7 separate regions of the Homo sapiens genome follow, and all the other regions are linked to region 6. Evidence: promoter capture Hi-C in 16 types of primary human blood cells and fetal thymus (Javierre and others, 2016). All regions are on one chromosome and are shown on one strand. The core of a region is centred on a gene start or on the middle of the fragment in contact, and the rest is flanking DNA. Distances in the headings are between cores, read along the strand shown. Region 1 overlaps LRRC40 (leucine rich repeat containing 40). Region 2 overlaps ANKRD13C (ankyrin repeat domain 13C). Region 3 holds the start of LRRC40 (leucine rich repeat containing 40). Region 4 overlaps SRSF11 (serine and arginine rich splicing factor 11). Region 5 overlaps LRRC40 (leucine rich repeat containing 40). Region 6 holds the start of ZRANB2-AS1 (ZRANB2 antisense RNA 1). Region 7 overlaps LRRC40 (leucine rich repeat containing 40).

Evidence for each region. The method cuts DNA at HindIII sites, captures the fragments that hold promoters and counts their contacts. A CHiCAGO score of 5 or more calls a contact.
Region 1: a fragment that was not itself captured here is called in contact with the fragment with the promoter of ZRANB2-AS1 in region 6 in 2 of 17 cell types (naive CD4 T cells and total CD8 T cells); the score reaches 5.8 in naive CD4 T cells.
Region 2: a contact is called between a fragment that was not itself captured here and the fragment with the promoter of ZRANB2-AS1 in region 6, in 5 of 17 cell types (total CD8 T cells, naive CD8 T cells, fetal thymus and 2 more). The highest score is 7.3, in total CD8 T cells.
Region 3: a contact is called between the fragment with the promoter of LRRC40 here and the fragment with the promoter of ZRANB2-AS1 in region 6, in 15 of 17 cell types (naive CD8 T cells, total B cells, total CD8 T cells and 12 more). The highest score is 22.5, in naive CD8 T cells.
Region 4: a contact is called between a fragment that was not itself captured here and the fragment with the promoter of ZRANB2-AS1 in region 6, in 4 of 17 cell types (naive CD4 T cells, naive CD8 T cells, total CD4 T cells and 1 more). The highest score is 8.4, in naive CD4 T cells.
Region 5: a fragment that was not itself captured here is called in contact with the fragment with the promoter of ZRANB2-AS1 in region 6 in 2 of 17 cell types (total CD4 T cells and total CD8 T cells); the score reaches 7.1 in total CD4 T cells.
Region 7: a fragment that was not itself captured here is called in contact with the fragment with the promoter of ZRANB2-AS1 in region 6 in 4 of 17 cell types (activated CD4 T cells, naive CD8 T cells, total B cells and 1 more); the score reaches 5.8 in activated CD4 T cells.

Annotation. Positions count from the first base shown.
Region 1 is chr1:70,168,004-70,170,703 of GRCh38, forward strand. All of the region lies in intron 9 of LRRC40 (leucine rich repeat containing 40), which reads right to left. Among named protein-coding and RNA genes, the nearest start is that of LRRC40, 36 kb to the right of the region's middle. The HindIII fragment of the contact is 1,882 bases long and covers 436-2,317 here.
Region 2 is chr1:70,258,940-70,261,710 of GRCh38, forward strand. ANKRD13C (ankyrin repeat domain 13C) reads right to left here. Exons shown (of 13, transcript NM_030816.5): 13 at 60-2,771. Among named protein-coding and RNA genes, the nearest start is that of SRSF11, 39 kb to the left of the region's middle. The HindIII fragment of the contact is 1,077 bases long and covers 725-1,801 here.
Region 3 is chr1:70,204,133-70,206,891 of GRCh38, forward strand. It overlaps LRRC40 (leucine rich repeat containing 40), which reads right to left and starts at 1,447. Exons shown (of 15, transcript NM_017768.5): 1 at 1,258-1,447. The coding sequence starts at 1,408. It also overlaps a transcript of SRSF11 not described here. RefSeq lists enhancers at 1,041-1,100, 1,361-1,670. The HindIII fragment of the contact is 8,465 bases long and covers 1-2,759 here.
Region 4 is chr1:70,223,594-70,226,376 of GRCh38, forward strand. All of the region lies in intron 1 of SRSF11 (serine and arginine rich splicing factor 11), which reads left to right. Among named protein-coding and RNA genes, the nearest start is that of SRSF11, 3.6 kb to the left of the region's middle. The HindIII fragment of the contact is 3,911 bases long and covers 1-2,783 here.
Region 5 is chr1:70,185,262-70,187,961 of GRCh38, forward strand. It overlaps LRRC40 (leucine rich repeat containing 40), which reads right to left. Exons shown (of 15, transcript NM_017768.5): 3 at 2,004-2,077. Among named protein-coding and RNA genes, the nearest start is that of LRRC40, 19 kb to the right of the region's middle. The HindIII fragment of the contact is 845 bases long and covers 1,013-1,857 here.
Region 6 is chr1:71,045,254-71,047,953 of GRCh38, forward strand. It overlaps ZRANB2-AS1 (ZRANB2 antisense RNA 1), which reads left to right and starts at 1,253. Exons shown (of 3, transcript NR_038420.1): 1 at 1,253-2,336. PTGER3 (prostaglandin E receptor 3) reads right to left here and starts at 2,563. Exons shown (of 4, transcript NM_198719.2): 1 at 1,428-2,563. The coding sequence starts at 2,324. RefSeq lists an enhancer at 1,977-2,560. The HindIII fragment of the contact is 6,286 bases long and covers 1-2,700 here.
Region 7 is chr1:70,149,755-70,152,583 of GRCh38, forward strand. LRRC40 (leucine rich repeat containing 40) reads right to left here. Exons shown (of 15, transcript NM_017768.5): 12 at 2,679-2,789; 13 at 1,374-1,451. Among named protein-coding and RNA genes, the nearest start is that of LRRC40, 54 kb to the right of the region's middle. The HindIII fragment of the contact is 7,254 bases long and covers 1-2,829 here.

The DNA of each region.
Region 1 (2,700 bases), core at 127-2,626, 880 kb before region 6:
TTTGAACCTAGACTGCTCCCTCTCTCCCCTCTTCTAGGTCAGAGAGGCAGAAACTCCACTCCAGAAGGCTACAACTGAGAACACAGGGTTCCCTCTCCCCCAACCCTCCAGCCCCAAACCCTATCTCCCAGCCAGAGGGCTTTCTTCCTGAGAGGAGTGTCAGCATTTCTCATCCTGCCACCAGCTTCCTGTTGCTAATGCTAAATCCCTGATGAGTAGGGTGAGGACTCCCTTCTTCCACTCTGGTCACATGCACAGAAAGGAGGCTCTACCTTGAGCTTGGCATGATGAGAATACTGGGGCCCTGACTGCTCTTCCCCTGGCTCATAAGTTGCTGGTTCAAAGAAAGGAGAGGCAAACCAAGAGAACCTAAGTCTATTGCTGACTCCTTCTACTGAGTGTTCAGCTCCTAGAGGAGAGTGTTACTCTTAGAGAAGCTTGCCATCTTCCATATTCCCAGCTTCACAGCCTGTGCTCAAAGATTTTGCCTGGGGGAGAAACAGGTCATAAAAACAGTTCCTAATCTCTTCCCAAGGGAACTGACTTCACTCACAACAAAGCATGAAAGCTCTCAAAAACAATGAAGGTTATGGTAAAAGGCAGTTGGGATGAAATTCCTGGATCTACTGAAGATACAGCCTAGACTGTATACAAGCAGACTGTACACAAGCTAGCTCACAGGAGAGAACCAAGGAATAAGACAACTACAGAAAAGCTGAGTGTCTATAACAGTATCAGGCAAAACAGACTCAAAACATTTTTTTATGTCAGGGGCACATTATAATGGAAATTTAACAACATATCCTTAAACAACCAATGGGCCAAAGAAGGTATCAAAAGAGAAATCATAAAATACTTTGAGATAAATGAAAATGACACAACATACCAAAACGTATGAGCTGTAGATAAAGCCATGCTTAGAGGGAAATTTTAGCTATAAATGCCTATGTCAAGAAACAAGATCCCAAAATCAATAACCTAACTTTCCACCCTAAGATACTAGAAAAAAAGAACAAACTAAACTCTGGAGTCCTGATGAGATAAGTAAGCAACAATGAAAAGGGGTCCCAGGTGGGGGAGAACAATTGTTCCAAGAGACAGCTAATCATAGACAACTCTAATCACAGACAACTTGCTGGCACAACATCCTGTTCCCAAATACCTCGCTCTGTACACAGCCCCAGCAGCAAGACCTCGTTCCACATAGCCCACTCCAAGCATGAACCTATAAAACTCCCCTCCAGCACCTGCCTCTTGGCAGACAGCCCCTTCTCTGCTGTGCTACTTGTTGCACCCTTGCAACATATCTTTGTACTTTCTCTAATAAATCTGCCTTTCTTTACTACAACTGTCTTGGTAAATTCTTTAACCACCCAGAACGCTGGCCCCAGTCAGTCACAACTGCAATAGAAACCTAAACCAATTAGAAGGAAATAAATAATTAGAGTGTTAATTAATGAAATAGAGAACAGAAAAACAATAGAGAAGATCAATGAAACTAAACGCTCATCCTTTGGAAAGTCAACAAAACTGACTAATATCCAGCTAGTGTGGCCTAGAAAAAAAGAGAGAAGACTCACATTACTAGAATCAGAAATGAAAGAGAGGACATTATTACTAACCTTACAAAAATGAAAAGGATAAACTATGGCAACTATATGCCAACAAATTAAACAACTCAGATAAAATGGACACATTCCTAGAAAGATAAAAACTACCAAAACTGACTCAAGAAGAAACAGACAATCTGAGTATATCTATAACACGTGAAGAGTAATAAAAAAAACCTAGCCACAAAGAGAAGCCCATGCCTAAATGGCTTCACTGCTGAATTCTACCAAACATTCAAAAAATTAATAACAACTCTTCATAAATTCACCCAAAAAACAAAATAGGAGGGAACATTTCCCAATTCATTTTATGATGCCATTATTAGGCTATCACCCAAACCAGAAACAAAAAAAAATCACAAGAAAACAACAGATGAATAACTCTCAAATTCTCAACAAAACACTAAAAAACAAATCTAGCAACATTTACAAAGAATTATACACCATTACTAAGTGGGATTTAACCATGGATGCAAGCTGATTTACCATCTGAAAATCAATTAAGGTAATACAGCATATTAACAGAATTTTTTAAATCACACGACCATCTCAACAGATGCAGAAAAAAAATTGACAAAAACTCAACAACTCTTTTAGGACAAACACACTCAAAAACCAGAAAGAGAAGGGAAATTCCTTAACATGATAAAGGGCATCTACAAAAAATCCACAGCTAACCTAATGTTACTTAACAATGAAAAACTAGAAGCTTTCCCCCAAAGATGTCCAGTCTCAGTCCTTCTATTCAGTACTGTCCTGGAGGGTCTAGCCAAAGGAATTAGGCAAGAAAAGGAATAAAAGGCATCCAGATTGGAAAGGAAGAAGTAAAACTATCTCTATTTGCAAACAACATAGTCTTGTATATAGAAAATCCAAAGGAATACATCAAAAAATTATTGGAACTAATAGTTTCATCAAGGTTTCAGGATACAAGATCAGCATTCAAAAATCATTGTATTCCTATACAGTTGCAAAGAACAGCACAAAAATGGAATTAAGAAAACAATTATATGCCTAATAGCATCAAAAGGAATAAAATGCTTAGAAATAAACAAGTATAAAACTTACAGTCTGAAAACTATAAAACATT
Region 2 (2,771 bases), core at 13-2,512, 790 kb before region 6:
AATTGCCCACAGTACTCAGTACAATAATACGCTGAACAGTAATATGCTGAACCAGCTTGTGGTCTCGGAGCAATAGGCTTTATTGTATAGTCTAGGTGAGTGGTATGCTATACCACCTAGGTTTGTGTAAGTACACCCAATATGGTTCTCACAATGACAAAATCACCTGATGCATTCCACAGAACATGTACCCATCATTAAGTGACACACAACTGTATTTAGAACATCCCAATTACTGTCATCCTTCTTTAGTCATCAAGAACTCTATGTATGGGAGGTACAGGTAAATAAGTGGTGGGTTTTATCTTTTTGGTTTTATGTTAGACAATATTTCTACTCTAATTAAAGTCATTTTCACCGCAAAACATGATGAAAACCAAGAATGATTAACAAGCACCTTTCTTAGAAGTTCTTAAGATTTTGCTTCAATATTTTTCAGTGTGTGGAAAAAGCAAAATTGTAATTCTATGTACCATAGGTACCATTATGACTGAAAGTATTACTCTTCTAAAATGAACTGTAACAATTAAAAAGCTCATCACAAGGTAAGCTCACTCTGTAAGGATGGTTTGCATGATGTAAAAAATGTGATTCTTAACATGTTATGAAATTTTTAGGTGGCAACCAGAGTTAGTTACTATTGCCCCAGATTTCTGACATAAAATGCTTTGCAAGAGTAGTTTTGGCTAATTTATAGTATACAAACAATCATGGGCTTTTACCAAGCTTAGTTCTGCTATCTATCTTTACAAGTGACTTAATACCTCCTGTCCATTTCTCTAGTGGGGGCAAGTTTTACACCAGTTGCTTTTCTCTAGCATGTTTGTAAATATGGGTAATATCAATGAGCAGAAGGAAGCACCTTTAATTCAGCAGTTAAACACAGGTTTGGACTGCACAGGTCCACTTACATGCAGATTTTCAACTGAACCCCTAACCTCCATGTTGTTCAAGGGTCAGCTGTACTTATTTACAATATTTACTTCAGTCCTTTCATGGCCTGGAAACAGGATCTTTGTCTTCTGCAGACTTAGGGAAAACTAGGAAGAGGGCTCATTAAATAATCATTATTCATCACCCTCCCCCAGTGTGTGAATAATAAACTGTATGTGAATACTACTATAAAAACCCATTTTTATTAGCATGAGTGGGGCTTAATTCCAGTTCTGAGCAGAAGGAAACAGTTTTTCATCTACTAACATGTATCAGCAGACAGATGTGACAGTTTCCAAACCATCATCTGTACTTCTTATACTCACAAAAATCAGGGCATCTACTTCATACTACCCTTTTATGAAGTTTGGCAATTCTCTGTATGTGAATATCTACAGAGGGCAAATTGTCTCATCAGAGAATTATTTTCTCAAAGATGGAAACCATATCTTCTCTGGATACCATACCAGTGGGCAAGAATATTAACCATTTCTAAATGGCTATTGAAGATGACTATACGATTGTCCCCCTACCAATTTAAACAGTTTCAAAATCACAAATGGAGAAGAACATATAGAATTTTGTGTACCTACATTGCAAAATCTTGATTTTTCATGTGGTATTATGAAAACATATGGTGTTTTGACTTATTCATTTGAAACACTGCATATAGCTTCATTCATTAACTGGATTAAAAGGCACATTTCGAAAAATCTTCATTAAAAGTAATACTGTGAAAAGTTTATTTGCATCGATTAATTCCTTTTTTTCACCATCATAAGAGATATTGACATTTGTTTGCTCTTTGTGATCAGAGAAAAGACATTTTGGAATGGATAATCTGTTTCTACCATTCTTTAAAGAAAAAAGCTTTAAAAACAAAATTCAAGTGCAAAAATTTCCAGTAGTCTTCCTACCTCCAGTGTACCCCAGCAAAATATTCATAGCTGTGCTGTTAGGAAATTAATCAACCATAAGCTTCAATTACCCACTTTTTTTCTTCCCTAAGGTGTCTGTACTTATGAAAACATATATAGCATATTCCTGAAAGTATACCATATTCCTACAAAGTAAGGGAGCCTAGAAGCAACAGTGATCACTGCCTTTCAGTGTCTCCAACCCCATGTAACCACTGATAGGATAATTCAGTCTCTAAGTCATTTGATCTACCCATTTCCTAAATAACAGCGATCAACTTCTATTCAACAAAGCTAGTCTGGGTTTACTAACACGTTCCCCCAAAATTCAATAGGTCCATGTAACGTAGTAATTAGGTCTTTCAATTTTTTACTATGATTATTTTTCTTCATTATAAAATGTATTTAATGTCAACATACGCAATGCATGTATCAGTATGGAAGATGCAGCTTTAAAGATGTTTATTTAAAATTTTTCTTACGGTTTATGCTTTGGATTTTTAAATCATATTTTCAATAAGGGTCTCTAAACTCCTTTCAAATTACCTAAAATCCTGAAAAAAGTTTAAGCTACTGGTCAGTCTAAAAAACTTGACAGATGCATTCTTGAGACATTCATCAGGATACATTTTAAAAACATCAATCTAAGTAAGCTCTTTAATACAACATGATACTTTATAACTGTTATACATTAATCCCCCTAATTTATTTTCATACTTGGACCTTCAAACCACCTTGGAATAAATAAGAAAAATTTTAAGTGCAAAAATGAGTAATACATGATTTTATCACTTTGGAGACAATGAAATCAATATTTTCCTGTGATTTAAAAAAAATAATAGGAGTAATCAATCTTGTGTATACTTCTGGACTTTAACTTGTAACAAATATATTCTGTTAGCATATAAAATGTTTTTATCT
Region 3 (2,759 bases), core at 197-2,696, 840 kb before region 6:
CTAGTCAATAAGTACATTCTAGCACACCACTTATGATTTGAGAATACTCATTCACTTACTTATTGCTTCCGCAAAATTTAATAAGACTCTACTATGTACCAAGCACTATTTTCAGTGATAGAAATACAACAAAGCACAAAACAAAGCTCACTGACTTCATGATATTAACCTTTTGGTTGGAGGGCAGAGAAAACAAAAAACATAAATGATATAAATTCTGATAGTGATAAATGCTGTTAAAAAATTAAACAGGTAAGAGAACAGAATGTTAGCATGATAGGTATGCAAGTTTAGAGAAAAATGTTTCAGGTTTTGGGGAAACCAAGTAGATATATATATATGCACAACTGTAGTTTGAAAATGAGTATGTTCCCATTGATCAAAAACTCTTTTAGGTGGAGTAAGGATTCTGTGTCTTTTCATTCATTCAGAAGCATTTGCTTGCCTAATCTACTTTATACATGTCACAATAAGAAAGCAATCATTAGAAGGAAAATGGAAGGTTTTAATCAGTCTTAAAACCTAAATATAAATGAAGAAAAACATTACAGGAAAAATGCTCTATTTCTCCATCTCTCCATTCCCCTCCCTCTCTCTCTTACACACACACACACACACACACACACACGACAATCAGAAGAGCATCTGGCCATTCATTCATGGTACCCAGATTTGTGCTTCTTGGTCTTTAACAGGTTTCTCAGGATGTCCCCACATTCAAACACTCTGTGTGGCATCTATCCTGATCTTCAACTTAGAAAATATACTCATTATTCCTTGTAAGTAGAACTCTGCACAGCTGCATACAGAAGAGCGTCTCGGCAGGGAACAGTGCAGGTTCACAAAGGGGCCGATAAAACATATAATTTTAGCTTTGGTAATTGCCCTTGAAGATTACAATAAGAGGAGGAAAATAAGGGCCAAAGAAACAAAAGATTTGCCCGTGATTTGATAGCTGGTTTCGTCACATATTATGTTGCTTATCCCACAGAATGTGGGAATCCCAGAAAGCGCCCCGTTTAAATTTAGACCGTATTTTTAGCAGGGTCCCTTTAACAGAGATTGCGGGAACCTGGGAAGGAACTGAACTGGGCTAACCAAACCGGTCGAAATGAGCACAGGGATTAGATTAGAGCACAGAAATTCTGGCTAGCAGTCTGAGAAAGGGGGCCAAAGCCAGCCCAGAGAAAAGGGAGGTTGCCTGGGCCAAAGGCTTTCTGACAGGAGACACAATAGGGTCGTACCTCTGGGTCTTACCTTCACTGAGGTTTCTACCCGACAGGTTTAACTGGCCGCTCTTCCTCGCTGCCTTCAACAGCCCTTGGGGTACCGAGGTACCGCAGTCTCTTCCACCTGCTTTGAAACCAGCGCGGAGATCCTGCCCCGCTATCCGCTTCAGGCGCGACATGTTCAAAGTCCTAGGTCCAGAAGCTGCAGCCCCACCCGTGACGCTTAAAGGTGGCGCCGTTGGGATGCCCCGCTCCTTTCGTGAGCGCGCGCTCTGGGCGCTGGGCTCGCGGCCTCGCGCTGGGCCTTCACTCTCTGCGGCGCAGTCCAGATGTCGTCAGCACCAGCGCCTGGGCTGGAGGACAGAGAAGCCTTTTCCGTTGCCGGTGCCGGCCTAGCGTCCTGGAATTACTTCAATCAAGTAAGTGCGTTTAACGGGCTTAAGAGGGGCTTTCGGGTTTATTGTTTGCACTGTTACTGCGACTCCAACCTTCTCCTCTGTGCTTCCACCGTGGCGAGGGTGTGGGGAAAGAGAACCCTCTCTTCTCCCCTCTCCTAGTCTGAACGTGGGCCTTGACTAAAACTTGAGATCTGGGCGCGGTCGGCAGCGTTTCTGGACCCCAGCCTGTGTTTGTCGCTTGTGGTGGTGGCGCCAGACCTCTGGCGTACGGAGTAAAAGAAATTTTCTGTTCTTAAGGCTTGTACTCTGACACCATTCTCGTTGTATTGAGGGTATATAGCTTACCCAGCAAAGGAGGTAATGTGAAATGGAAGGACTGGCAACATAGAAGACAAAAACAAAAATCCTTAAAATTTAATAAATGTTCTGTGTATCAGACAGTTTAGGGAGACAAGTAGTGGTACATGCTTTAGTGAAGCTCAGACAGCTTGGATTTTTGAGCCCTAAAAAGCAAGTTCAAATCTCAGCTGCTTCTTTACTTTAGAAACTGTTAACTTTAGGCAGTTTACTCAACCGCTTTTAAAGCTCATTCCTTTTTTTCATTACTTTGGGGATAATTCCTACCGCATAAGGTTTTTGAAATAAGTGAAGATAAAAACTAGAATCTTGAGCTCTCGGTGAGTCCAGAATAATAGCAAATGAAAATTTTGTTCAATGTAAGTCGGTGTTTCCTAGGAAATTAAAATTTTCATCTGAAATGTACAACTTCTTGATTCAACAAGTAATTATTAAGATTAATCCTGCCTAGTATGTGTACTATCCTGGGTGCTAGACTTTTCTTTTGCCTGAAATGATTTTGTTTTAAAAGCATATGCCAGGGAATACCATTCTAACCCCCATCAAGTCTACTGAGGATTGGTAGAATAGTTGAAAGCTAGGATGAAGGCCCTTTGATCAATTCTTCATCACGCACTTTTACCTGAGTCCAGGTTATTGCTACCTGTAAAATTCGGTTTTTAACTCTACCCTTTTTGTTCTTATTTCTGTGGAGTCCTTTACACTAATATCGAACAAGAGAAAGTTACCAATAGTTGTTACCCTACTAAAAAAGCAAAGAGTGGATTTTTGTCTT
Region 4 (2,783 bases), core at 262-2,761, 820 kb before region 6:
TACTCTGACTCCTTCATTTATCTTCCCACATACAAGATCATTTTGTCTTTTAAAATGTACAAGGTTACAATAAGTTAAATGTTATTAGTGGCCTTCTACATTTGATCAGTAATGTAGATGGCTACTTTTATTTACTTGATGTTGCATTTTGTTTTTTTAACTATAAGTTTCAATACACTAATCTGACTGGCACAAGTTGCATATAGTTCCCAGTGGTCCACAGGGTTCATCATTCCAAAAATATTTATTCATAACATTGAATGGCTCAGATTACATAAAATTCTATCTGTTGTGAACAGGTCACCTGATTGTAACTATTATCTACACAGTTGGCCTTCTTCATCTCTGGGTTCCACATCCATGGATTCAGCCCACTGTGAATTGAAAATATAAGGAGAGAACGTCTGTACTGAACATGTACAGACTTTTTTCTTGTCATTCCCTAAACAGTACAGTATAGCAACTATTTACATTGTATTAGGTATTATAAGTAATCACGAGATTTAAAGTATGCAAGAGGATGTGCACAGGTAATATGCCATGATTTTATTTTTCCTCCACCTCTTCCCCCTCCCTGCATCATGTTATATAAGAGACTTGAGCATCTGTGGATTTTGTTATCTGCAGGGAGTCCTGAAACCATGGATACTGAGGGAAAACTATATGATTTCCCCCAAGAAGGCAGTGACATGCACCTGTAACTCTTTTTCCCCTAGACATATCTGTGACATGCTTAACTACTTTTATTTTTCCGATGTCACCTTAATCAGAGAAAACTTCCCAGACCACCCTATGTAAAATAAAGCACCTCTGCTGCTGCTTTATTCTCCTTAACACTACTTTTTTTCTATAGCACCTGTCACCAGTTGACAGGTTAAGTTTAACAACTTCTCTCCTGTAGAATATGAGGTGCTTTAAAATACATGTATGACTGAACCTCACCCACACCTACTGAAGCTCTTCATTTCGGTTCTGAATGCCTATTTTGGGGAAACATTTCTGGGATTATGACAGACATTTCAATGACAACCTGCTCTAGGAGGTTTCCTGCATTGTCATTGTTAAGTCCATCTATTTATTCCTTCTTTTAAACCAGAATTTCTGGCCTGTAATTTTACTGAGAAATAGAAATACTATCTTTACAATAGGTGATATTCTAACTGTCTCTACAGCATGATGGCTTTGCAGGTATTTGAAAGTTGAACCCCACATATACTCTTTGTTAAACTGTTATTTTGATTCTGGTTGTTTCTGAAATGCGTACTGGAAATGCAGCATTGTTTGAATATCTATTGTGTGTGAGTTGCTTTCTAAATGTACCTTAATCCTTACAAACCTGGAGGAAAAAAATGTTTTTGACCCTGTTTTACAAGTTCGTGAACTGAAATTTACATAGGTATTTTTTGTATGCCCAAGCCATACTGCCAATGTCAGAACTAGAACTTGAACCCAAGTTGTGACTCTCCTTTACCACTTGATCAGGAGTTTGCTGATTTAGCCAAGTAACTTGTAAGATCTTCACATGCTTTCTTTTAGTGGGATTGCCCAGCAAAGTGCTTATCAGGTGATGATCCCAGTGAAGTATGTCACAGTTATGCAGTAACTTAAGGCTGCTGTAATACGGAGATACATTGAAGTTCATTAGTAACTTTTCAGTGACCCAAAATGGATACTTTAATGGTTATATAAGTATAAATTAGTATATTAGGTAAGGGAAAGAGTTTAGTGCACCTTTAAAGAAAAAATGGTTTTAATTGATGCACCATTTTATTGTATATTTCTTTACATAGTGAGAAGGGGGCACATGAGGTCAGCAGTCAAGTTTTCAGGTTAATGTCGTCTTTGTCACACACCTCCTTTTGTGGGTTGGCGATACTTTTATTTATGAGCTCGAAATTCTCCACTTAGCACACTATTAAGGTGGAAATTGGAAGGCTGATATCAGTGGCCTAAACCTGAAGTTCTCGTACGTTAGTAGGCATGAATACCTTGTTAAGAATCTGGGCCTTCATGTAAAAAAGATTCTCTACAGACCCTTAGGTGAACAACGGAAATCTCAGGTTTTCTCTCTGTAGTCTAGAAGATTCTGAAATAGCCCTCAGAGGACACGTAAGAACTGTTAAAAACTACACCACCGCTCTTAGTTGGAGGACAGAAGTGGCATGCAGGACTCACTTTACCCTATCTTGTTCCTCATTTCTCCCTACTTTATATTAATTCTAAAGAGATACGGAGTAAAATATGTGTCGTATTTGGAAGCAGTACTTCCACAGAATTTTAGAGCACAAAAATTAATTTCAGGCATCAGTCCTCTATCTTATATTAACATATTATCTTATTAAGATAAATTTTATTAGGAGGCTGAGGCGGGTGGATCACCTGAGGTCAGGAGTTCAAGACCAGCCTGACTAACATGGTGAAACCCCATCTCTGCTAAAAATAGAAAAATTAGCCGGACGTGGTGGCGTGTGCGTGTAATCCCAGCTACTTGGGAGGCTGAGGCAGGAGAATCGCTTGAACCTGGGAGGTGGAGGTTGCGGTGAGCCGAGATCGTGCCATTGCGCTCCAGCCTGAGCAACAAGAGTGAAACTCCATCTCAAAAAAAAAAAAATTTTAATCGAAAAAATGTTAAGAATGTAATTGTGGGCCCAGATACCATCAAAAACTTGTTTTAAACCCATCTAAAGGAGGCCATTTGAAGTGGAGAGAGATGAAATTATATTTCTTATTCACAGTATTCAAATTCATATTTAATCTGTACCCTACCATCACTTAACAGGTTT
Region 5 (2,700 bases), core at 185-2,684, 860 kb before region 6:
TGGTTGTGTCCCCACACAAATTTCATCTTGAATTGTACTCCCATAATTCCCACATGTTGTGTGAGGAACCTGGTGGGAGATAGTATGAATCATGGGAGCGGTTTCCCCCATACTGTTCTCGTGGTAGTGAATAAGTCTCATGAGTCCTGATGGTTTTATCAGGGGTTTCCAATTTTGCATCTTCCTCATTTTTCTCCTGCTGCTGCCATGTAAGAAGTGCCTTTTGCCTCCCACCATGATTCTGAGGCATCCCCAGCCATGTGGAACTGTAAGTCCAATTAAACCTCTTTTTCTTCCCAGTCTCGGGTATGTCTTTATCAGCAGCATGAAAACGGACTAATACATACTATAACTGACTTTCAGAATTTTGACAAAACTATATGCACACATATACCACAATGGAGTTACATCTTATATGTTCGGTTTTAAGGCAAAAATAGCTATTTCTGTTTGAGGACCTAGGATGTCAAGTTGAATGTAATATGGAATTCCACTCTTCTTCATACTTGGTCTTTTCAGTTAAGCCCTTCTGTAGAGATATTCAGTGTAATGGTTTAGAAGTCCCAAATCATGGAGGATGATAGACTTCATGATAATTAAGAGATGACTGAACTAGTTCCCAGGTTTATCACAACTTAAATACTCACTTACGAATTCCATGCTATTTTCATGCCATATACAGTTACTTTACAAATAACAGGGGGAAAATGGGAAATACAAGGTGCTTACAATAACCCTAAATTACAGTAAAATAAAACTAGTTGGGACAAAAAAAGTCAAATGATGTCTTCTAAAACAAGAACCAATAATATTGTTAAGTCGGTTACTGTTATTGGTTACCTAGCTGAAATCTTTGCACACTTGATAGGGATCTAACTGGGGAGAGAGATAATTTTAGCTATAGATTTCCTCCATCTCCTTTTCTTAGCTAATTACTCCATCCTAAGATTCATACTTTTTTTAAACTTCTTCACTGAGAACACACCTACATACTCTTAAGTATAGAATCTAAAGCTTAAGCCATGTCACTCAACACTTACTGCTTCCTCTCTTCCTCTCAACAATCCCCACTCTTGTCTTTACAGGCCACGTCTATGCCTTTGACTTGTAAGGGGAAGATACTGTGATGGAGTTCTAAATAATTAGCACCTTTTTATGTATATATATTTTCATTGGCCAATGGTAATTTTATGTTTTCCACCAAATAAGGAGTGTTACTGGGAGGGACTATTTTCCCTCAAACCAGTTAGCTTATCTCCAGAAAACAAACTTGACTATATTACATTACATAGATCTGTAACCGTATCTATTTTATAAGCCACAGTTTTTCAAACTATGCTTTAAGTTCCTGAACCATTTTTTTCTACTCCAAAATAAGACCTCTTTAAATCTCCTTTCCCATAGCCTATGTCTATATAACAAACAAAGGCAAAGTTATTCTTTCTTAAAAGTCTGGGTATGTATCAGAGAGCAAACAGAGTTAGCTACAATCTTTGCCACTGAACATCCCATGTACCAGTATGTCCATGACAGTTACAAAAATATATCCGTAGAATCCCAGGAGTCCTTGGAGAAGTTTAAAAACGACTACTAATAAAAACTATGAAGTATTTCATTTATGAAAGAATTGTTTTACATTTCTTCCTTATTGTTTAGATATTTTTAGAATATCAAGGTAACTTAAAAGTTGAGACATCAACAAAGAGGTTTACTACAATAACAAACCACTAAGAATTGTTTTATAAAAAAAAAAAAATTTAAGCATTTAAAAAAAATCAACTAGCCTTGCATTTATAAAATCAGAAATGATGGGGGTAATGCTAAAACAAAGAAAAAAACATACAAACTAAGAATTAAAGCTTTAAAAAACTTAAAATTCTTATTCTGCTTTAACTACTTTCTGAGATAATTCAAAGATATTTTTAATGTTGAGAAAATTTAAAGAATATTAGATTTAAACCATTATAAGGGCAATAATATAAGTAAATAAGCTTAATTTTTACCTGACATTAAGTTTCTGAAGATTTTCTAGCTCTCTTATAGCAGAAGGAAGGGATGTCAACTGATTATCATGTATCTAAAAGTTTTTAAAAGACAAAGTCAATATTCTTAGTCTTATCATTAACAATATATAAGCTTTGCCAGTGTACAAAACTATTAGTCAGTAATCTCCTGTTCCTCAAATTCAATGGCAACAAGTTGAACTACTGTTCAACATACTTGTTCTGTATGTAGAACAGTTTGAAGATGACCAAACGGCTGTTCAGAAATCATGAAGTAAGGCCAGGTGCAGTGGCTCACACCTGTAATCCCAGCACTTTGGGAGGCCGAAGAAGGCAAATCGCTTGTACCCAGGAGTTTGAGACTAGCCTAGGCAAATTAGTGAGACCTTGTCTCTACAAAAAAAAAAAAAATTCTTATTAGTCAGGCGTAGTGGCGCACACCTGTAGCCCCATCTACTCAGAAGGCTGAGGTGGGAAGATTGCTTGAGCCTAGGAGGTCAAGGCTGCAGTGAGCCCACATTGTGCCACTGCACTCCAGCCTGGGCTACAGAGTGAGACCCTGTCTCAAAAAATGGAAGAGAAGAGAAGAGAAGAGAAGAGAAGAGAAGAGAAGAGAAGAGAAGAGAAGAGAAGTCATGAAGTGTTAAGTCAACCACTTTAAATATTATACTAAGAAAAATTTCAACTCATTAGTAGA
Region 6 (2,700 bases), core at 3-2,502:
TTAAAAGTATACATGGCGCACAAAAAACTCAACGTACTTAATGCCTAATGCCACTGAACTGTACACATAATAATGGTTAAAATACTGAATTGTATGTAATATATTTTACCATAATTAGGAAAGAAAAAAAACTGCGTTCACGTGTTTCAAAGGTTTTCCACAACTGTATAATACATATAGTTGGTTATACCTTTGTAACAGTGACCATATCGCTCTTTCTGCAACATCTATTAACCCAGACACCCCAGGGCCTAAGTAAGCATCCATTCTTCAGGAATTAGTAAACAGCACTTACACACGGACATTTCTAGCTAAAAGTAACACAGACAAAAAAACCTCAAAAATATCACGTAAGGGCAGGTGTTAGGCAAAGAGCCTCTGCAAACATCCCTTGCTCCTCTGCATTGCTCTGGTGTGAGGAGCTAGGACATGGAGAAACCTCTACCTCCTATCTCAGGATTAGCGAACCCTGCTTGAGTGCTACAAGGGTAAGTAAATGCTGGCCTGAAGAAGCTGCTGAGCTTCCGGATCCCACTGACTGTCGTTCGGGCACTTCCTAGAGGGTCAAGCACCATGGCGAAAGGCTGAGGAGGCAACTCGTATCTTTCATTCTCCTGCCTCATCAAGAATGAACCTTGAAGGCACCCATAGGTCGCGCAGTCTTTCAGAAGCTGCAGGAGGGCTGTGACTGTATGGGGTTGCAGACTGAAAATCTTATTAACGTGAAAGAGGAATTTGAAATTAAAAAAAAAAAACCCGGCCGGGCGCGGTGGCTCACGCTTGTAATCCCAGCACTTTGGGAGGCCGAGGCGGGTGGATCACGAGGTCAGGAGATCGAGACCACGGTGAAACCCCGTCTCTACTAAAAATAAAAAAAAAAAATTAGCCGGGCGTGGTGGCGGGCGCCTGTAGTCCCAGCTACTCGGAGAGGCTGAGGCAGGAGAATGGCGTGAACCCGGGAGGCGGAGCTTGCAGTGAGCCGAGGCTGCGCCACTGTACTCCAGCCTGGGTGACAGAGCGAGACTCCGTCTCAAAAAAAAAAAAAAAAAAAAACCCCACAATATCAGGCTACAGTTATCATAGCAATTCTGCTTTTAATGCACTCAGGACAAACTTCTAGCTCTGCATATATGTCATTTCAATGACACATCCTGTCTCCTACCCGACTAGAATGTGAGCAGCCCTGTGATCTCTATGTGCTCATAAACAGTGCCTAATGCGAATCCTGGCTCTTGGAAGGCGCTCAGCTAGTAAGTGAGGAGCTCAGCTCTGAAGCTGTAACCAAGACCGCGCGGGCAGGAGGAAAGGACACTTCAGCGCTCTGCGGTTGCAAACACACCCCTGCGGGTGCTGCCACTTAGCAAAGTCTTAGGTTCCCGCTTACTCGCACACGCATCCTGACTTCCCCCAACCCTGGAACTACCTACCAGGAGCGGAGACCAGCAGACCGACAGCACGCACATGATCCCCATAAGCTGAATGGCCGTCTCGGTCGTGATGCGGCCCCACTGGGCACTGGACTGAGATGCCGTGGCCTTGGCCCGGCAGCGGGACACCAGGGCCTTAATGGTGGCCAGGTTGCAGGAAAAGGTGACTGTCAGCGCCAAGAGCCCCAGGAAGGCAAAGGCAGAGGCGAAGAAAAGGTTGCCCCAGTTATGCGAAGAGCTAGTCCCGTTGCCCCCTCGCCCGGTGCTGATGAAGCACCACGTCCCGGGCCACTGGACGGTGTACTGGCCCACGCCCAGCACCGGCAGCAGGGCGAAGGCGAGCACGGCCAGCCACACGCCGAGCAGCACAGCGCGGGTGGCACGCGTCTTCATGTGGCTCGCATACCAGTGCGGCGCCCTGATGGCCAGCGCCCGCTCGACGGCCATGGCGCTGGCGATGAACAACGAGGAGAGCCCGAAAACAGTCATGGTCAGCCCGAAAAAGGTGCAGAGCCGCCCCGACGGGTCGATGTGCTCCCAACGCTGCTTGGACAGGTACACGACGATGACGACCGGGGTGGTGAGAAGCTGCCCGACCAGGTCGGTGAGCGCCAGCCAGCCGATGCACAGCAGGAAGGACTTCTTGCGCTTGCTCTCCCGGCGCCGGTAGCTGCGCGACACGAGCAGCATGGCCAGTGCGTTGCCCACGAAACCAGTGAGCAGCATGGTGATCGGGAAGGCCACGGACACCGATCCGCAATCCTCGCCAGACCCTGGAGGGCGCGTGAGGTTGCCCCGCGCCTCGGCGGAACGCTCGGGCGCCCACATGCCTGTGTAGGAGTGGTTGAGGCGGGTGCAGAAGGGGGCATCCCCTCCGTAGCCCCGGGTCTCCTTCATGTTGGCTTCGAGGTGAGGAGGGGATGGCGTCCAGAGAGCCGCAGCGGGAGGGGGCAGACGCGGCGCGGGCGGCGGCGGAGGTCGGCGTTTACCGCGGCTGGGGCTGGGCTGCCCCCCATGGTGCGGGGCGCAGCCGCCGCCCTACTCCGCTGCTGGGACCGCGGCCGCGGCGGCGCCAGGGCTCACTGGCCCGGGAGGGAGCCACGCCTTCCTCTCTGGGAAACCTCTGGTGGCGAGGCGCGCGGAGGTGCCGAGTCCCCTTTATAAGGCCGAGGGGGCGGGGCGCCCGTGGGTGTGGACAGAACCGAGGTGGGAGGAGGGTGCAAAGCAACTGAGCGCCTCTCTTGGCTGTTGCCTATCCTGATCGCCTGGGTTG
Region 7 (2,829 bases), core at 34-2,533, 900 kb before region 6:
GAGCAATATTTTAACATCACTATGCATTAGCTTCCTCATCTATAAATGAGGAATAATAATAGTACTAAACATATACACTTGTTATAAGGATTAAATGAATGTATTTGAAGACCTTAGGACATTATCTAGGTTGCATTAAACATTAGCTGCTAATATTTTATTTTTTAAATTTTATTTATTTTTTGAGACAGAGTCTTGCTCTGTCGCCTAGGCTGGAGTGCAGTGACGCAATCCTGGATCACTGCAACCTCTGCCTCCTGGGGTTCAAGCGATTCTCCTGCCTCAGCCTCCTGAGTAGCTGGGTTTACAGGCCACCACCACGCCTGGCTAATTTTTGTATTTTTAGTAGAGATGGAGTTTCACCATATCGGCCAGGCTGGTCTCAAACTCCTGACCTCAGGTGATCCGCCCACCTCGGCCTTCCAAAGTGCTGGGATTACAGGTGTCAGTCACTGCACCTGGCCAGTTATTCATATTTTAATTAAATTGTTTTTAGAATCCATTTTCATCATAAGAAACAATGTGACATAGTTGTTAAGAGCCCAACTTCTGGAGCCAAACCACCTGGACTCAAATCTCAGCTGTATAATTTACTATTTATGCATACCTTAGATGAGTTATTTAGCTTCTAATCCTTGATTTTTAAATGAACACAGTAACAGAACCTACCATGTAGGGTTCTTGTAAGCCTGAGCTATTACATGTAAAGTACTTAGTACAGCACCAGCAGAATAATAAGCTCCCAATAAATATTAGTTGCTCTTAATTATCTGCAGTATCTTGATAGTGTTTGCAGAACAAAATCTAAGTTTCGTTGAGCACAAAAAGCTCAAGGTCTGGCTACTGCTTACTTGCCAGACTTTATCTGTTCCTTCTACTCCTCTACCTGTTTGCTTTATTGTCCAAAGCACATTGAACTTCTTGAAGTTTCCCAGACACCCCATATGTTCTCACATCTTTGTGCCTTGGCATATGCTATTAGCTCTAACTAGAATGCTCTCTACCTGAATGGCTGGCAAATGTCTATTTTTCAAACCTCAGTTTCAATGCTATCTCCTCTACCTTAAAGTAATCTCAGAAGACATTTTCCTGTGCACTATCCTTCCATTAGAGCAATTGTAATTATTTATTTTGTCTTTTTAGGCCACAGGTTTCTCAAAATGGTAAAAAGGAATGAAAAATATGTTAGACATCAACTATGAGAATTCTAAGAAAATAATATTTTTAACTCTAAGAAGAACTAAGTGAAAATAAAATCTGGATATTGAAATAAAGTAGAAGGGGCCTTTTTGTTTTTTTGGCTTTTGTTTTCTCCAATGAGAAAGATCTACATATTTCCACAGAATAACAATTAGAATTGTCTGTTCTCTTACCTATTAAAGGAAAGATTGATCGTTTGCAGTCTTACCAGTGATTCCATTTCTTCTGGCAAAGAATTTAAAAAATTGTTCCTAAATTGGAAATCAAAACAGAAGATTTACAAAGTTTGAAAAATTTTACAAGTTTAATTTATAATTAAAATATTGAGCAGGAAAAAAAAATATGTAGATCAGTTTGTCAATCCTTGATCTGACTTTATAAAGGCTGAGTTCTGAGAATTCTGAATCAGTCACCTACCGCAGTTATTCGGTTAGTATGCCAAATCCTAATAATACCAATATGCAACCAATTGATAATGCAATGAATTCTTTACAGGTTTAATAGTGATTACAGGGTAAACACTGTAAACTAATTAGCTCCTTCAAAGTGGGGTATTTAATATTTCCCCCATGTCTATAATACCACATAAATATTCCATTGGTGTTAATATATATGACACAGACATGAAATTCTACTCTAAGAGGAATTTAAAAATTATTTTAAAAATGAACCAAGAAGTTAAAAAGATTCTATTAAGAGATTTGGAGTTTTCTACTCCATAGGTATAAAGCAAATCTATTCCTACTCTAAGTTTAGAATTTAAATTTACACAATGACTATTTTTTTTTTTTAGCTCTTACAATGAAACATGGCAATAAACAAAATCTCATTTACTGTTGGAAAGATCTGGGAGCAATGTTAGAAGAAAAGTTAACAAAAAGGTAAAAGGATTTTAGGAGCCAATATAACTACTAATAATGAAAATACCTGTGAGAAAATTATTCCCAACTAGATGACTACCTATTACAAATAAATATTTTTCTCTAACCTATTTCTTTGTGTTCAGAAGTCAAGCCTAATATGTAAAGTCATACTTTCTACAGTACAAGCTATATTCTTTTTCTATATCTACATTCTCTGTACTTTTCTCCAGTTATTGTCTGCATTAAGTTGTGTTGAATAACCCACTCAGCTGGTTTTATACTATTTACTTTCAGAAAATAAACAATGTGAAAAAAATACTTTCCATGTCTTATTTGTAATTTTGCTTAGAATGGGTTAATATTTTCAGTAATTTTGTCTTATGACGTAACTTGTAAATTGCTTACAAATTATAAATGTCTGATTACAGTATTTTTCCTGAATTCTGTCTCGGGTTTCCTAAACACTATTTTTGGATTCTCCTAAACTATTGTTAATAAATAAAGGCCAGTTTCCATACATACCTAGGAAAATATGAGGTAAAAAGAATAAGTTAGACAAAACTCAAAGACAAGTTATAACTTTTTAAAAAGTCAAGCAATAGTATCAATAAATACCTGAGATCTAAAAAAGTCAATTTCTGAAGCACACATAACTCCAAGGATATAAAGGAAAGTTTATTAAAACTGAGATCGACATCAGAAACCATTTCCTTCAGTTCTACCATCCTGAAACAAAAATAATTTTAAAATGTTAGCACTTGAATTC